2 separate regions of the Homo sapiens genome follow, and region 1 is linked to region 2. Evidence: promoter capture Hi-C in human tissues and cell types (Jung and others, 2019). All regions are on one chromosome and are shown on one strand. The core of a region is centred on a gene start or on the middle of the fragment in contact, and the rest is flanking DNA. Distances in the headings are between cores, read along the strand shown. Region 1 has its middle 19 kb from the start of ZNF135. Region 2 holds the start of C19orf18 (chromosome 19 open reading frame 18).

Evidence for each region. Contacts are between HindIII fragments. The study calls those that stand out against the background at their distance.
Region 1: a contact is called between a fragment that was not itself captured here and the fragment with the promoter of C19orf18 in region 2, in 3 of the 25 tissues and cell types used here (IMR-90 fibroblasts, aorta and pancreas).

The regions. Positions count from the first base shown.
Region 1 is chr19:58,076,441-58,080,212 of GRCh38, reverse strand. No RefSeq gene overlaps it. Among named protein-coding and RNA genes, the nearest start is that of ZNF135, 19 kb to the right of the region's middle. The HindIII fragment of the contact is 6,468 bases long and covers 1-3,772 here.
Region 2 is chr19:57,972,187-57,976,014 of GRCh38, reverse strand. It overlaps C19orf18 (chromosome 19 open reading frame 18), which reads left to right and starts at 1,481. Exons shown (of 6, transcript NM_152474.5): 1 at 1,481-1,703; 2 at 1,812-1,916; 3 at 3,511-3,552. The coding sequence starts at 1,583. The HindIII fragment of the contact is 10,862 bases long and covers 1-3,828 here.

The DNA.
Region 1 (3,772 bases), core at 916-3,415, 100 kb before region 2:
AAGAAAAGCAAGAGGCTGGGCGAGGTGACTCACACTTGTAACCCCAGCACTTTAGGAGGCTGAGGCAGAGGGATCCCTTGAGCCCAGGAGCCAGCCTGGGCAACACAGCTAGACCTCGTCTCTACAAAAAACTTAAAAATTAGCTGGGTGTGGTGGCATGTACCTGTAGTCCCAGCTGCGTGGGGGGCCGAGGTGGGAGGATGACATGAGCCCTGGAGGTCAAAGCTGCAGTGAGCTGTGATACACCACGCACTCCAACCTGGGTGACAGAGCAAGACGCTGTCTCAAAAAAAGAGAGGGAGGACCACGCACAGTGGCTCACGCCTGTACCAGCACTTCGGGAGGCTGAGGCAGGTGGATTACCTGAGGTCAGGAGTTCGAGACCAGTCTGGCCAATATGGTAAAACCCTATCTCTACGAAAAATTAGCCAGGTGTGGTGGCAGGCATCTGTAATCCCAGCTACTTGGGAGGCTGAGGCAAGAGAATAACTTGAACCTGGGAGGTGAAGGTTGCAGTGAACTGAGATCACACCACCGCACTCCAGCCTGGGCGACAGAGCGAGACTCCATCTCAAAAAAAAAAAAAAAAAAGAGATAGCAAGAGACGCCAGAGATTGCTCCCTCTCCATGCACACACAGAGGAAAGGCCATAGGCAGGTGCAGACACAGCAGGATGGCAACCATCTACAAGCTTGGAAGAGAGGCTTCACGTGGAACCCACTCTGACTTCCAGCCTCCAGAACAGGGAGAAAATATTAATAAATTCCTGTTGATTCAGCTTCCCAGCCTGTGGTATTTTGTGATCACAACCCAAGCAGACAAATACATGTCTGCCATCACTATTTGAGTTGAGGAGAGTTTTATGAATCAGTGTCAACTAGTGCAATCATTTTGGAAAGCTAACAGTCCAACTGTATTCAGTAACAATACGGGGCCAGGCACAGTGGTTCACACCTATAATCCCAACACTTTGGGAGGCCAAGGTGGGAGGATCCCTTGAGCCCAGGAGTTCAAGACCTCCCTGGGCAACATAGTGAGACCCCACTTTTTCCTCCACAAAAAGGAAAAAAAAGGACCAAAAATATATATATACACAAGGATGCTGGTTTGCATGAAGTTAAATACTATGACTTAAATATGAATGGTAGAGCCATTCAAAGCAATAGTAAAAAGGCATAAATGATAATTAAGACTAGCAAAATCGAAGAATTTTTTTTTTTTAGACAGAGTCTCGCTCTCGCTCTGTTGCCCAGGCTGGAGTACAATGGCGTGATCTCAGCTCACTGCAACCTCCGTCTCCCAGCTCCAAGCAATTCTCCTGCCTCAGCCTCCGGAGTAGCTGGATTACAGGTGCGCACCACCACACCTGGCTAATTTTTGTATTTTTAGTAGAGACGGGGTTTCATCATATTGGTCAGGCTGGTCTCAAACTCACGTCCTCATGATCCACCCGCCTCAGCCTCCCAAAGTGCTGGGGATTACAAGCGTTAGCCACCGCGCCCGGCGCTGGAAGAGTAATTTGTAAGTGTAGTTCAAGTAGAATGTAACTGTTGATTCTGTTGCAACTGTGTAAACAGTGGGCATTAGTTGTCAAATCCTAGCAGACAAAGTATAGAAATGCAAAGAGTAGTTGTGTTAGGGTCATGAAATTATGAGGACATTTATTTCAGTTTTTTAAATTCCTTTGAAAGTTTTTTTTGTTTTTTTTTTGAGACAGAGCCTCGTTCTGTCACCCAGGCTGGAGTGCAGTGGCACAATTTCAGCTCACTGGAAGCTCTGCCTCCCAGGTTCAAGCGATTCTCTCGCCGTGGTGTACTGAATAGCTGGGATTACAGGCCCCTGCCACCATGCCCGGCTAACTTTTGTATTTTTAGTAGAGATGGGGTTTCACCATGTTGGCCAGACTGGTCTCGAACCCCTGGCCTCAAGTGATCTGCCCACCTCAACCTCCCAAAGTGCTAGGTGTGAGCCACCGCGCCCAGCCATGGGCTTTTATAATAAAGTTCATTTTTCACCATTTTAAAAAGAATTCTCCCAATTATGTAAAAGTTAAAAACACAGATTCGGCCGGGCACTGTGGCTCATGCCTGTAATCCCAGCACTTTGACAGGCCCAGGTGGGAGGATCACCTGAAGTCAGGAGTTCAAGACCAGCTTGGCCAACATGGTGAAACCTTGACTCTAGTACAAATACAAAAAAATTACCTAGGCATGGTGGTGCGTGCCTGTAGTCCCAGCTACTTCAAGAGGCTGAGGCACAAGAATCATTTGAACCCAGAGGCAGAGGTTGCAGTGAGCCGAGATCGTGCCACTGCACTCCAGCCTGGGCAACAGACTACTCCTTTTGACATCTCAGTGTATTTATGTCTCCCAGTCATTTTTCAGGGTATGAGATGTGAGTATAATGTGTTTGGTATATGTGTAGTCTGCGTACATTCTAAGTGTGTCTCTTGGGTATCATGAAAAAATGAGTGAGGTGTCTGATGGGTCTCGGGAATACCCTGTGGACTTCCTTCAGGCAGATACAGAACAGGATAGGGTGATGTGCTTTTGATGCAAAGAAAGGCAGATACTCCATTCTGCCTACCCTGAGTCCAGTGAAGTCAGTGATTTATTAGTAGCTGTTCCTTCAACCTGAGAGGCTCCTGGGATGGGGCCACACTTGGGAACTATGGGCTTCGCAGACAAACTGCTTCAGGAAGTTTGGGCACAGTTCTCACTTGAGGCTTCCGGGTCTGTTTCAGAATCACCCAGTGCCTTGGTGTGCAGATTACCAAACCCCCTCGGACCAACCAAAGCAAGGTCCCAGGTTTAACACCCTCCACCTTCAGGTGGTTTTCACTCACATCAAAATGGGAGATCCATTACCCTTGGCAGTGCTGGGTTCTGTCTTCCCAGTGTCCATGCAGAAGTCTCTAAGACGAGGGTTGCTGGAACCAGGGGTCGATCCAGATTTGTTGGGCCTAAGGCTCACACAACTGAGGGGTCCCTCTTCAGAAGAATAATTCAAAATTACAAAGATAAAATTAGGCGCTTGGTCTTGAAGGGATCCCTGAAAGTGAGGGACCTAGAGTTTCAGCTTACTTTCATGGCAAATCCATGAAGCCAGAGCCTCAAAACATAGTGCAGCCCAGCCTTCCCTCAACTCGAGAGAACATGAATTTGTAGAAAGGTTCCCAGATGTCTCAATGAAATGAACAGCTTTCCAAAGTCCAGCCTCTGGCTGACCAGGTAGCTCTTGAGACACAGGCTCCTGAGGGACCAGCCACATGCGATGGGGGCAACTGCCAGGGAAATCTGCTCAGTGAGAGGGTGGCTTCTGGGACATGGTAAATCTAAGCTCCCCAGCTCCTCACCAAGGCCCCAGTACTGGGGAGGTCTCTCCAGCTGTGGCTCTGCCTGTCTTTTCACGGAGGTTTGCCCTGATGCCATGGTTTTAATGTGACGTCCCTCACCCCATTCACCAAACACAATAATCCCCAAGTTGTTATCATCTCTGGGCTGGTATTCATCTTATCACTTTTTTTTTTTTTTTTTTTTTTGAGACAAAGTCTTGCTCTTGTCGCCCAGGCTGGAGTGCAGTGGCACAATCTCGGCTCACTGCAAGCAATTCTTCTGCCTCAGCCTCCCGAGTAGCTGGGATTACAGGCTTCTGCCACCATGCCTGGGTAATTTTTGTATTTTTTAGTAAAGACAGGGTTTCACCATGTTCTCCAGGCTGGTCTCGAACTCCTGACCTCAGGTGATCCACCCGCCTCAGCCTCACAAAGTGT
Region 2 (3,828 bases), core at 232-2,731:
GGAGGGACAGGAGGATTGCTTGAGCTGAGGAGTTCAAGGCCAGCCTTGCAACGTAGCAAGATCCCATCTCTGTTTAAACAGATAAGAGTTTTTTTAATGTCTTAAAGGGCCTCCTGGCAGGGCACAGTGGCTCACTCCTGTCACCCCAGCACTTTGGGAGGCCAAGGTGGGTGAATCATGAGATCAGGAGTTCGAGACTGGCCTGGCCGCCAACATGGTGAAAGCCCATCTCTACTAAAAATACAAAAATTAGCTGGGTGTGGTGGCAGATGCCTGTAATCCCAGCGGTTCCAGAGGCTGAGGCAGGAGAATCGTTTGAACCCAGGAGGTGGAGGTTGCAGTGAGCCAAGATTGTGCCACTGCACTCCAGTGTGGGTGACAGGGCAAGACTCCATCTCAAAAAAAAAAAAAAAAAAAAAAAAGGGCCTCCTGTTGGTCAGGTCACATCACGAGTCAAAAGAAAGTCCCAGACTTCTGCTTCTTCCTGGAAGTATTCCCTTCCTCTCACCTATCATGCACAGCCTGGACAGTATTGATTTCAGTGGTCCCTAACATCCAGCACTCCCAGGTCCCCTCTGTCTCCCTCATACATGACATAGTTCATTGCCTTTTTTGAGCCCGTCTTCTATTCCTCCCATCTCTGAAGCCTAGGGCCCACTTTCAGTCATCAGGAGTCCCCCTTTACCTTCCTGCTGTGGGTCTCCCCTGTGCACATTGCCTCCCTTCTAAGGGTGACTGCTTTCCTTCCACTTTCTTTTCTTTCTTTCTTTGTGCAGTGGTACGATTTTGGCTCACTGCTACCTCTGCCTTCTGGGCTCAAGTGATCTTCCTGCCTCAGCCTCCCGAGTATCTGGGACTACAGGTACACGCCACCATGCCTGGCTAGTTTTTGTTTTTGTGTTTGTTGTTTTATTTTTTTGAGACAGAGTCTTGCTCTGTCGCCCAGGCTGGAGTGCAGTGGCATGATCTCAGCTCACTGCAACCTCCACCTCCTGGGTTCAAGTGATTCTCATGCCTCAGCCTCCCAAGTAGCTTGAACTACAGGTGTGCACCACCACGCCCAGCAAATTTTTGTATTTTTAGTAGAGATGGGCTTTCACTGTGTTGGCCAGGCTGGTCTTGAACTCCTGGCCTCAAGCGATCTGCCCACCTTGACCTCCTAAAGTGTTGGGATCATAGGCGTGAGCCACCGTGCCCATTCCTTTTTTCCTGAACATTTTCCAAGTGAGGTTGTTGGAAATCACGGATGGGGAACTATGCATGCGGAGGGCTGACTGTAATTGATTTCTTTCTGCCTCCTCACTAATCTGCACACTGCAGGCAGGGACCTGGTCTCATCATGCCTGCACCTCCAAGCACTGCCCTCTTACACTGTAGTCTCCCCATTGGTCAGCATGGTTCCATGAAGGAACTCCATTATCACAGCAAGGACTGACCTCACACTGGTGGCTCCAAGTCACTGCCCAAACATTCTGAAGGGAGTAGAACTTCTTGATTCCTCAGATAAATAGAGGACAGATGCTGGACTGTAGCTAAGTATTTCCTTTCATCTACGGGATAAAATACTGATAATTTGAGAGTGATGGACAAGGTTCAGAGTGGTTTCCTCATTTTGTTTTTGTTTTTAATGGAATGCCAACTTCATTTATGCTTGCCGTATGCAGATGGACTCCATCCCACTGGAAACATAACAGGCTTACCAGGTAGCTTCAACCACTGGTTTTATGTGACTCAGGGAGAATTGAAAAGCTGTTTCAGGGGAGATAAAAAGAAGGTAATTACATTTCACCGCAAAAAGTTTTCTTTTCAAGGCAGTAAACGGTCACAACCACCCAGAAACATCACCAAAGAGCCCAAAGTGTTCTTTCATAAAACCCAGTTGCCTGGGATTCAAGGGGCTGCCTCGAGATCCACGGGTGAGTCATTGAATTCCTCATTCAGTGGAGTGAGAATCGTAGCCTGGAGTCCTCTTATCTGCCATGTGAATGTGTACTGTGTGCTTGCTGGTAGAAAGGTCCATAAAATAGAGTATAATTAGATAAACATTTGCTTGGAAATTAGATCTTATGCTCTTCACTCTCTGTTAACTGCTTTCTCTTTAGGGATTGCCACTTTCTTCTCTTTTTCATTTCACTTTAATAAGCGCACACAAAAACCTTGATCCCATCCAGATTACACAGGTATGCCTGTCTGACTTGAATTTGGTGCACATTTGGCAGTAGAGCATGCAAGTCTAGACACAGAAGGTTTGTGAGTGTACAGAATTCTTTTTTTTCTTTTTTTTTTTTTTGAGACAGAGTCTTGCTCTGTCGCCCAGGCTGGAGTGCAGTGGCGCGATCTCGGCTCACTGCAAGCTCCACCTCCTGGGTTCACACCATTCTCCTGCCTCAGCCTCCCAAGTAGCTGGGACTACAGGCACCCGCCACCACGCCAAGCTAATTTTTTGTATTTTTAGTAGAGACAGGGTTTCACTGTGTTAGCCAGGATGGTCTTGATCTCCTGACCTCATGATCCGCCCGCCTCGGCCTCTCAAAGTGCTGGGATTACAGGCATGAGCCACCATGCCCAGCCGAGAATTCTTTATAAGCATTTTCTATGGTTCCCTTCTAATTTGAGTACTAGAGGATGTTTGTTTATCTTATAACAGCAAAACCAACCCCGACAATCTTTGAAGCTCAGCAACCCTTTGTGGAGATATATGATGCTTGTAAATAATCTCCATTCCATGCAAGGGAAATGCTGTCTGTGTGATACATTTGCATGTAATTTGTGTCCGAGGAAAGGACACTATTGTTGGTTCCCTGGCCTCTCTGCCTGGCTCTCTGATCCTTTTTTTTTTTTTTTTTTTTTTTTTTTTTTTTTTTTTTTTGAGACGGAGTCTCACTCTGTCACCCAGCTGGAGTGCAGTGGCGCAATCTCGGCTCACCACAACCTCCACCGCCGGGTTCAAGCAATTCTCCTGCCTCAGCCTCCTGAGTAGCTGGGACTACAGGCGCGTGCCACCATGCCCAGCTAATTTTTGTATTTTCAGTAGAGACGGGGTTTCACCATGTTGGTCAGGCTGGTCTCGAACTCCTGACCTCGTGATCTGCCTTCCTCGCTGGGATTACAGGCATGAGCCACTGTGCCCAACCCTTGCTGACCTTCTAATGAGGTCGTAGCCCCTTCAACTCTAAGTCTCTCCAGGTCCTTAATTTGGGCAGAGATTTCCCAACTTGTATGACTGCAAAAGGAGACCAGAAACCAAAAGTATCCTGTTCCTAAAGGTCATTCTTCATGACAGGAAGCACCAGGTGCAAAAAGAACAGCAGGCTCACCAGGCTTCTGCAAATTAACCCACACATTGCTGCCAGGCATTGGGAGGAATGTATTAACACATCCCATCTTAGATATTTGGAAGCTGTGTGTTCGGCGTCCTTCTCTAATGCTAAGTTATTTCCTTGTTTTCCCAAGTTCATCTTAAACCATCTTAAAGTCTCTTCTTTTTGATCCCCTTTGATGGCCTTTTAGCTGCATCCCCTACGAACCCCATGAAATTCCTGAGGAATAAAGGTAAGCCAAGGGATCTGGGAGGGCGGGTGGACCCGCAACATTCCTGAAGCTGTCGTGATGTGTGGCTCCAGAGGGTGCTGGCTGGTCACCAAGGAGCCTGCACACGTGGTGCCTTCATGTGTGTTAGACAAGGTGCCCCCTCTGGAGGGGGATGCGCAGTGACACCGCTTGGGGCAGGTGAGAAGGTGGCTCAACTCCACGGGCTGATGTTGTAGTGAGTAGAGCACAGGCTGTGTCTGAGATCTCTTTGTGGAACACACAAAATGCATGGGCACA